Regions from separate parts of the Homo sapiens genome. Here regions 2 and 3 are each linked to region 1. The links are contacts of gene promoters, found by promoter capture Hi-C in blood cells and fetal thymus (Javierre and others, 2016). All regions are on one chromosome and are shown on one strand. Each heading gives the region's core, a stretch centred on a gene start or on the middle of the fragment in contact. The rest is flanking DNA. Distances are from core to core; before and after follow the strand shown. Region 1 holds the start of EOMES (eomesodermin). Region 2 has its middle 45 kb from the start of LINC01967. Region 3 holds the start of NEK10 (NIMA related kinase 10).

The links. Contacts are between HindIII fragments. The CHiCAGO score rates a contact against its expected background, and 5 or more counts as called.
Region 2: a fragment that was not itself captured here is called in contact with the fragment with the promoter of EOMES in region 1 in 6 of 17 cell types (total CD8 T cells, total CD4 T cells, non-activated CD4 T cells and 3 more); the score reaches 10.8 in total CD8 T cells.
Region 3: a contact is called between a fragment that was not itself captured here and the fragment with the promoter of EOMES in region 1, in 6 of 17 cell types (naive CD8 T cells, total CD8 T cells, non-activated CD4 T cells and 3 more). The highest score is 9.0, in naive CD8 T cells.

What each region holds. Positions count from the first base shown.
Region 1 is chr3:27,720,434-27,724,010 of GRCh38, forward strand. It overlaps EOMES (eomesodermin), which reads right to left and starts at 1,890. Exons shown (of 6, transcript NM_001278182.2): 1 at 981-1,890. The coding sequence starts at 1,861. RefSeq lists a silencer at 1,316-1,525. The HindIII fragment of the contact is 2,734 bases long and covers 138-2,871 here.
Region 2 is chr3:27,982,285-27,985,534 of GRCh38, forward strand. No RefSeq gene overlaps it. Among named protein-coding and RNA genes, the nearest start is that of LINC01967, 45 kb to the right of the region's middle. The HindIII fragment of the contact is 1,009 bases long and covers 1,133-2,141 here.
Region 3 is chr3:27,368,359-27,371,624 of GRCh38, forward strand. NEK10 (NIMA related kinase 10) reads right to left here and starts at 1,025. Exons shown (of 36, transcript NM_001394966.1): 1 at 867-1,025. RefSeq lists an enhancer at 283-783. The HindIII fragment of the contact is 868 bases long and covers 1,233-2,100 here.

The sequences.
Region 1 (3,577 bases), core at 640-3,139:
TAAAAGTTTGCAGTGAACAGAATGCTGGTAGATCAAGTGGTCTGAAACTATGTAAAATATTTTTGAGTTGGCAACTCTTGGAACCTTTCCGTCTTTTCAAAAAAAAAAAAAAAAAAAAAAAAAAAAAAAAAAAAAAAAGCTTGCCCCAACATCGGTATATTCCAAATTCGCGCGTGCTTCCGAAGGCTCATATTCTCGGCCCTTTCAGACGCTCTTAAAATTTTTCTCCTAGAATGTTAAAAACTACTAATTTTTAAATGCACCATTTTGAAAAGTACCAGAGAACAATATTAGGTTATTCTTGTTAAAAATATATATTAAAACTTTAGGCTAAAAGTCCCCTTTGAGTGCCCCTCTCTCAGCACCCACCCCTCCCTTTCCCCAGAAGTAGCCAGTGTTAGCAGTTGGATGTATATCAGAACTTTCTCGCGCACCGAACCCGAGCCAGGTCTGGCTCCAGGGCAGATCTAACCACCTACTCCGACCGAGCTTCCGAGGCCGGCGCTCTAGCCTTCATGCCCACCTCCCGGAGACGCCCCGTGGAGACCCTGGCGCCTAAAACTGCGGGAGCCCATCTACTGCGCTCAGGTGGCCAGCTCTTGAGCCTTCCCTATCCGTGGCTCCTTGCCGGCATGCAGGCATGCACAAGCATACCGCCGAGCAGGAGGATCTAACGAATCCAGCTTGTGGACATGCCCTAATTTCCATTTCCGCCTCCTCCAGGTCTGTTCAGGTGAGGATGATGGGAGGGAAAAGCGGTGTACAGCCGTAACATTGGCACCCTGCAAGAGCCGCCGGGGCACTGACACAGAGGGACACCGCATTGGAGATGCGGTGTCTACGGAGATTTATTGCGCGCGGTGAAACACTCTAAGCACCGCGCGGAACAACTGGGTTCAGCTCCCTCATCCCGGACCTTCCCCAGGACCACACGTCACCCTTTATCCCCGAACCCAGGGGCCCCTCCACGCTGCGCTCACCTGCCCTGTTTCGTAATGATCATCTCAGTTTGGTGGCGGTGGAATTTGAGCCACAGAGGCCGGTTGCACAGGTAGACGTGGGCACGGAAGCCAGAACCTGGAACCCCCAGGCCCCCCAGTCCTCCGCAAGATCCCGCCGCTGCGGCTCCAGGGTACGGCCCGTAGAGCGGAGCCCCCTGGCTGTACTGATAGGTGCCCGGGCCGCCGCCCCCGCCGCTGCTACCGCCCGCGCCACTGCCCGCACCGGCTCCTGGGCCGAACTGCGCCCTCCCGGGTGGGCACACAGCCGCGGGGAAGCCGCCGGGGGGCAGCATGGAGCCGTAGGGGTAGCGCGCCCCGTTAGGAGCCGGGTACACAGGTCCGTGGGGCGCCCCAGCCGCCGCCTGGTACGGGAAGAGTGAGCAGGGCGCAGCCAGCTCCGACCCCTGAGGACCGGGGGACTGGAGGTAGTACCGCTCGGAGCTCAGGCTGTCCATGGAGTAGCGCGCAGTGGCCGCAGCCGCGGCGGCGGCGGCGGCGGCGGCTGCAGCGGCGGAGGGCAGCTCCTCCTCCCCGCAGGGGGAGCCCTTGCGGCCGTCCGGGGGCCCCGGCTTGGCCACTGCCGCAGCGCTGGCAAATGCGTCCCCGGCGTCGGTGTCACTAAGCATGGCCGCGGGGGCCCCTGCGCTGGCGGCTGCGGGCTCCCCGCTCACCGCCTCGCAGGAGAGACTGCCGGAAAACTTCTTGGACGCTTTGTCTAAGTCCAACTTCTGAGGAGAGGGGGCCGCGCTGGGGAGGTGGCCAGCGCTCCCGCCGCTGCCGCCTCGCGCACTCTCCAGCGGGTAGAAGTGCGCGCCAGGCAGGTTCACTGAGCTCACCAAGAGCTGCTCCCCTAACTGCATGCTTTGCAAAGCGCAGACGGCAGCTGGCTGCTTCCTCTCCTCCGGTGGCCTTATTATAAAGGCAGGATGGGGGAGCCAGCGCCCTCTTCCGAGGGGAAGGTAACTTCCCCTTCCTCCCGCGCCGGGGCTACCCACCTGCCGACTCGCGGGCCGCTACTGCGCGTACTGGCGCGCCCTGAATCCAGCGTCCTTTCCGGAAGGAAAGCGCCGTGAGTTGGAAAGCAGGAGGTGGAAACTAACCCAGAAGCCCTCTCCTTTTCCTTCCTCGTACCTCTTGCTCCTCAGGACCCCCACCCTCCTCCCAGGCTCACACGCTGGAAGAAGGTGACTTAGATCTTTGTCCCCATCCACCCACTAGCCCGCGCCTTTCTGCCCTTTTTCAATTGCCAAAGCATCGGTCAAGTTGACCACTTGGAAACTTATGGGCTGTCACTAGCTGCTTTATATATTTGCGGCCAGGGAGGGGCTTCCCGGCCTCACAGCCCGGAGACCCTCCTATTGGCTGGTGGAGGTGACACTAATTCAATTAGGCATTTACTAATTGGATCAAGTCGCCTGTGACTTTCTTTTCCTTTTTTTTTTTTTTTTTTTTTTTTTTTTTTTGAGACTGCGTCCCGCTGTGATAATCAATCCTGGTGTCTGTAATTTCGCCGGAATTTAGGGGGACAAAGTTTGGGGTCTCCATAGCGGTGTCCACCCTTGGCGCATTAGTCATCTCAGCCCTCCGCTGGAGGAATGAGATGGCTGGAGCAGATTTTAGAGGCCAGAGAGAGAAAGACTCTTCAAGCTGATAGCTTGCAGGGAAGCGCCCGTCCCGGAGGCTGGGGAAACTGGGGCAAGTTGGAGACAGGCCCAAGGAAGTCTCTTTCCTCGTCGGAAGCTGTAACTTCAAAGCACACCTTCCTCTTGTCGAAGGCAAACTCCCTGGCCTTCAACGCACAGAACCACTTTTTGTTTGTTCCCATCCTTTTACCCAGTGGGAAAGGTTTGTAGAGAGGAAACTCGCGCTAAGCTTTTGGGATTCCGGGGACGGCCAGAGCACATTGCCATCCTGGAGGACCTAAGCTCTCAGCTTCTAAATCAGAAGCTTGGACAGGGTACTGGGGACAGGACAAGAGTGAAACTAAGCGAGCTAACACCAACTTCATACTCACGCCAACACAACTGCTTTCGGGGAGACAGTCACTTTTATTCCCCACAATTTAAAATCCTTTCTGCTCAGTTTTCCTGATCCCGGATTCCGTCCCTTCACCACCATCTTCAGTTAGGCCTGACACCAAGAAACAAAGCTTCCCTAACAGCCCCACAGTTAGGATTCCCTGCGCCTCTGCTCTGCGGCAAATACAGAAGGTAGAATAATTAGTGAAATAATCAGTTTGATATTGAATTAAACTCCAGCTGCTTGTTTCTTCGCTGCGTTTCCTCAGATAGATTCAAGAGCGGGGCCGTCATATTTTATCGTTTCATTATTACGGAAGCGGGGGGCACGTTTCGTTGCGGATAAGGAGAAGCCTGAATATTCGCTGTTAATAAGCAATTACAGACGCCGCCAGTAATCGCTCCGGGAGCGCATTTTCCGGCTGAGATGTCGGGACTCTGCTTCCCCAACCGAACGCGATCACACGGGAAACTCTTCGCCCACAACAGATGAGATGGCCAAAGGATTGCTGAGTGCGCACACGCAAGTGTAGAACAGTGCGAAGCTTTCCAACCCAG
Region 2 (3,250 bases), core at 387-2,886, 260 kb after region 1:
ACTATACTTCCTGTACAGCCTACAGAACTATGAGCCAATTAAATCTCTTTTCTTTATAAATTACCCAGTCTCAAATATTTCTTTATAGCAATGCAAGAATAGACTAATTCAGAGGTATTCACCAAAGTGTATGACAACATTATAAGTTCATCGAAAGCAAGACTGTGGTTGCATGTGTACCATAGCTGGCTAAGTACATAATACATATTGACCCTTGCAGACTGACTAATGGAAGCAGCTATGTTTTATCTCCTCAGCAGGTTGACAGAGAAGGAACATGTATCTCTAGGTCACTTCCTATTATGTTTTTCAAAGGTTCCAGGTGGTAAATCCACAACTTCAAAAATTCCCTTCTGGTACCCTTAAAAGAATTAGTGGATAACAGGGCCCCTCCCTTAAAAAATTTTCCCCTCTTATTACTTCACTCAGATTGCTTAGGATGTCAAATTCATTTGGAACATTTGAAAAAAGCGAGGGTATAATGAAAACAGTGGGTTCTTTGAAGTCAGACAAACTGGGTTCAAATCCAGTCTCATTCCTCCTTATAACTCTGAGAACAAAGGCAAGTTATTTAACCTCTCAAACGTTGTGCTTTCTTCTTTTATAAAAAGGTGGTGATGAGTGGTTGTTAGAATTAAACGTGTATAAAGCTATTAATTGAGATAATGCCTGTCATTTAGGTAATTATCAACTTTGACCTCTATGATCCTTGATTTCTCTTCCGAAGAAGAGGATAATGGTGATATTCATTTCATATGGTTAGTGTAAGTATTGAATGTACAGCCCAGAGGGAAGAGTAAAGGGGGGTGGTGGTATGTGAAAGTTACTGTTTTGAGGATATATTTTACTCCATGATAATTAATTTAAAGCATTGTTCACATTAAAGCAAACACAGAGGTATATTTAAATAGAAAGGAATACGCATGATTTCATACTAAAACACACATTTCAGAGCAAATTTCTGGTTTGCTCCAGGATATACAGGGCCACTCCTTAGATGCTATGGAATTATGTATACCCATTCTGCTGTTAAGGTAGTTTGGAGGAACAATTTGGAAAACACTAAGAAAATCATTGGTAAACCATAAAACACAAAAAATGTTAATTGAAATGATACATCTGGTGTCTGCTAAGCTTATTCAGTATGACCAAGAGGCAGGGGTCAGACACACAAATCAAGCATAAATTTGTTCTGCTACATTTTTAGCATATGCCTATATCCACCAGCTCCAGTATTCTTCCCTCTAACACTGTCCACCAAAGGTTGTTCCACTTCCCTTGGGAGACTGAAAAATTCTTTGAGAACTGATTGGCCTTGTGGATTTAATTCCCCTAAGGAGACATTAAGGTAGATTCCAGCAAGTTTCTGGGGGTTTTTCAAGTGAATCTGATTCACCGTATTCTCCCTTCAGAGAAAGTGGCAAACACTAAGTTTCCAAGTCACAGGAATATCACACTTTATACTGCCTGCAAGAGTTTTCTAACTGCTAACCTGATAATCTGATGCTTAGTTTTCTTAACAATTCATCCTATGTATATCTAAAAGTTACATATTATTGGGAAATTTTTGTGTTCAGAAAGCTATTTGTTACAAAAATTATATTCACACTTCCCCTGTCACCATCATAATAATCAACACAAAATCCTCCTGGAAAACAGCAAGTGAATATGTGATAAGCCAATGGTATAACTGGGCTACTATACCTGCGGATTATTAGTTGCACATGGTAGACAGTCAAGGTTGGGTGATTTATTTATTCATTCAACAAATATTTGCTGAAGGCCTAAAATAGGCCAGACACTTGCCAAGGCATCAGATGGATAGATGGATGAATGGATGGACAGATGGATGGATGGATGAATGGATGGATAGATACACTTATGATGATTACATCAATGAATGGATGGCTCTCCAAAATGCATGACAACTAACATCTGATTTAAACTAACATTGTAACCCTAGAAAAGAGCAAGGGTAGAGAACATTTTTTTTTTTTTTTTTTAAGAAAAAAGGTCAGGTCTATAACTACTGGGACACACACTATTTTAGATATAACTTGGGCTCTGAGCAGAATTTGTTGGGTGTTTGTGATAGTTAATCATAGGAAAAATTACAAGTAATTTCAAACTTACTAAGTAAAAGCTTTTCTTTGATTTCACAGCCAATATACAGATTCCCTTAATCCTACTTGGAATAAATATTTTGATTTTCCCCTGTTAGAGACTCTCAGCTCTAGCTTGTTGGAGAAGTACCAGCTTTCAAATCTAAGGAGAAAATTAAAATTTCTGTTATGTTTTAATTTATATTTTCAGTTTTTATAAGCTATGCTCAAACTTTGCTTTTGGAAAAATCATTTATCTTAGTGATTGCCTGCCACATCTATGTAGTACATTGATTACAAATGTCAGCTTCCTGGAAGACCAGGACTTTCTGGCTGTCTTGTTTATTTCGTTGCAACATGGTCCAGTGTAGAATGAATGAATGAATGAATGAATGAATTCAAAATGCAGACTAAGTTTTATCATTGCTGTTGTGACATTCTACCTTCCTACACATTGGACCATACCTCTCCATCACATTCTAACTCTTCATCTTTGCAGCTCCATTTTATCCTTGATAACAGGGCATATTGAAAGAAAAAAGTGAAAGCAGTAGGAACAAAGAAAATATATTAAAAGTTAACATTTATTGTATTTAAATAAAGTCAGAAAAAGCCATACGTATTGTATCAGTCATTTCTTTCTCCTAGGCCACATAATAACAGTGGTTATAACATGTTTAAAAAGTAGATATTCTCTCCTAGCAAGGTCCAAGTCTTGAAATAGACCAAGCTACCCACTTTCTCTGTTATAAGCAAAATATTCTAGAATCACATAGAAATAGTCCTAGTTGATATTTTTTCCCCAAGTCTTATTAGGGTCTGGCTTTGAGACTGTATAATTTTCACCCACCAAGACAATGGTTAAAATAATACCTGGATCCATTTATACAGAAAATGTCAAATAAATTCTATCCTCCTCAAATTACTGACAGCTTGCTAGATGTTTACCACACTTATTTATTCCATTAATAGAACTTAGGCATTATTTTAAATACTAATAATCATAATCATAATAATACCTTCACGATCTTCTCCCCAGCATATTAGTTTTGCCCAATGCTGATTCTTTTGAAATTCAGCAGATATCTTTGAAAGCTCTGGAATGAAGTACTCACAAGTATAAAATCAGAAAAAAATACCCATCTATA
Region 3 (3,266 bases), core at 417-2,916, 350 kb before region 1:
ATGGTGGGGAAAAAAGTGGATTGGATAGATAGGGCCAGACTAGAATCGGAGAAGCCAGATGGGTGTTGAATTTAACCAACCGATGGTGGAAATTGAGACAGTAAAAATAGAGATGGTAATGTGGGAATTGATTCAACACCTATTAAGAAGGGATAGTCTTGATAATTGATAGAGATGCAGAGGAAGCAGCAGTAAGTGTCATGGATGTCGTCTAGAGTGTAGTTTTTGAAAGCTGAATGGATAGTGATGCCCAAAATAGGGAATCCAAGAGCAGCAGCAGACATGGGGAAGATGGCGTTCAGGGTTGCACATGTGTGGCGTTAACTTGGCAGCTGGATTTTGGGGTCTGACAGTTAGTAGAGCAGGCTAGGTTCCAGTTGGAGACTTTCTAATCATCGTCAGATAGATGGTGCCTGAGGCGAGGAAGTGGAAGGGCTCACCGAAGTAGGGCAGAAAAGCAGAGGGGCAAAGTCAAAGCAGCATCCTGTAAGGAGAAGGCAGAAAAGCGACGCTCATAGAGATGAAGAATGAACCTCCAGAGGCGTCGGAGCAGATTGGAAGAGACACATTCAGGCTCCATTTAACCAGAATAATTCCGTTATCAAAATGGAAGCGCCAAGAAGCATCGTTGATGGCGCTTTCCCACCATCCATCCGTCCAACACAAACCCACCTGCTTTGAAAAGACTGCCTCACGCAGTGACTCACTTACCCACCACAGCCGCATTCTCTACCTCTGCCTCTTGTCTAGTGAAGCTGGCTCCCGAGGCTTCGGGGCCGCTCCACAGGGACCTGAGGACGTCTCCCCGGAGACCCTGACTCAAGCTGCTCGCCGGCACAGCCGAGCACCGGCTCCCGCCTACTCACCGCGCGGGAGGGACGGTCCCTCCTTCAGGCCAATCTCCTTATCATTGTCCCTGCTGCTGTCACCTGCTGCTGCAGACCGGGGGTCCCGTCCAGTCTCAGCCCGTCCCGTCCTCCCCCCAGCCTATTCCCGGTCCCCTCAACCTCAGGGACACCGCGGCCAGCTGCACCGTTGGTTTTCCAATCAAATCCTCCTCCAGGCCACCAACCAGCGCTGGCCAGGCCAATGCCGACAATTCTTCCTCCGCCACCTGGGGCGCCTCAGCCAATCGGGAGCAGCCATGCTGCGCAGTGCAGAACGCCATAGCGACGGATGACGCCTGCCGGGGAATCGCCGTAGCAACCAGAGACGCGCTAGATCCACCACCAAGCTTGCAAGCAGAAGAGGCAGCAAGTGATGCTGAAGGCTGTGCTGCAGCCACTTCACCGGAACCTAGAGCTACCTGTGAACAGGTCTCCTACACGTTGAAGATTTTTCTGGATTTAGGGTGTCTAACCTTTGATGGGAAAGGGCAGCTTCATCTTGGAGTGTTTACTTTCAAGAATTGCTATGGGCTAAAAATCAATTCTCTTTAAAAGCAAAGATTTAATCTGATAAGGAATCAATGCAGCATGCTAAATACCTTTCATATGGCATGAAAACGTCTTCAGTTACTCAAGCCACAGGCAATGAGAATAAGGTGCCACAGCACCGTATTTTTCACAAAAAGAGTGACCTGGGATTCAAGAAACCTGTATAGTATAACTATCGCCAGTTCGTTTTGTGGCTTTGGGCAAGTCACTTCACCTTTTGTGAAAGTCTGGAGCTTCTTTAAAATTTCTGAACTGCATTAGATAACGCTTTAAAAATATACCTGACATTCTGTAACTTTAAATAAATGAAAAATGCCAATCTATTAAGTGCTTAATTTTGTGCCGGGCACGATTTCAAATTCTTTCCTTATTTCACTTAGTTATAAAATGGAGGCACAAGAAGTTTCCTAAGTAGTCCAGTATGGCAGAGCTAGTGATGGAGTCAGGGTAAAACCTACTTCGAGTCTGGTCTTAACCACGATGATGCTCCTTCGACGATTTCTTCGAGTACTGGGCCCTGTTCAACCTCATCTTGGTATCACTAAACGCTCGTGTGTGTGTCTGGTGGTTACATCTTCCCAAACTGGATTTTAAATGAATACAGTGAACCCTAACGTTTTTCTGGTGTGGATAGTAAGTAGGCCCATTGGATTAACAATACTTAAGCTTGGGTAATTGAAAGCATTTTTTAAAATGAAGACGGTCCTATTTTGGAAATGCAGAAAGGCGAGATGAAAGCCAAACTCTGGTGAGTATAGCAGAACTAATTAAACTTCAGAGATCTAAAACAATCAGGATTAATGTTACCAATAAAACAAAACAAGGTGACGGGGCAGGAAGACCGATGCTGAGTAGAAAAAGTATTCTGTACATACATTCTAAATGTTAAGCAGTCGGCCTGGCTTGGTGGCTCACACCTGTAATCCTAGCACTTTGGGAGGCCGAGGCAGGAGGACCACTTGAGGTTAGGAGTTCGAGACCAGCCTGGCCATCATGGCCAAACCCTGTTTCTACTAAAAACAGAAAAATCAGCCGGGCATGGTGGCACATGCTAGTCCCTACTACTCAGGAGGCTGAGGCACAAGAATTACTTGAACCCAGGAAGCAGAGGTGCAGTGAGCCAAGATCATGCCACTGCACTCCAGCCTGAGAGACACAGCAAGACTCTATCTCAAAAAATAAACATTAAGCAGTGAGACATGACTGCACTGAACTTCTCATCTTCACCAGAATACCAATTGTGCTTCCCATCTTTCCACTACTCAGTAAAATTAAAGTCTTAAACTAATGTTTTGGCCATCCCAGAATATTCCTGAACTTCCCTGAAAGCTGCAGCGATTAAGAGGCAAGAATGACACTGCCTCTAAAAGACACATACACTATCATCTCAAATGTTAAGGGTCCCTCTGTAAAATGACACAAAATAAAATCCCACAAGAGATCTTGCACCAAGCTTATAGCTTATATAGCAAGGCTCAAAACTATGAAAACATATTTTTCTAAGGCCTTTTTTTAAATGAAATGCATAACGTAAATTATACAGTTCAAAAGTAAAACAGCATAATGTCCTAACTACAGCATAAAGGTAACAAATCTGCATGTAAGTAGATATTCAGGATCACCTCAACAAGAAGATAAAACCACTTCCCAAAATTTATAAATACTTTAGCCCAATGGTCTAGAACAAGAAAAGGCTATTCACACACACACACACACACACACACACACACAATCTAAGTGGAGGAATGAGAATGATCTTGTAGACTGAAAGCAGAAGGCTGAGTACAATTTGAAGTAAAGGCAGAACTTAAATTGGGCTTTGAAAGAAAA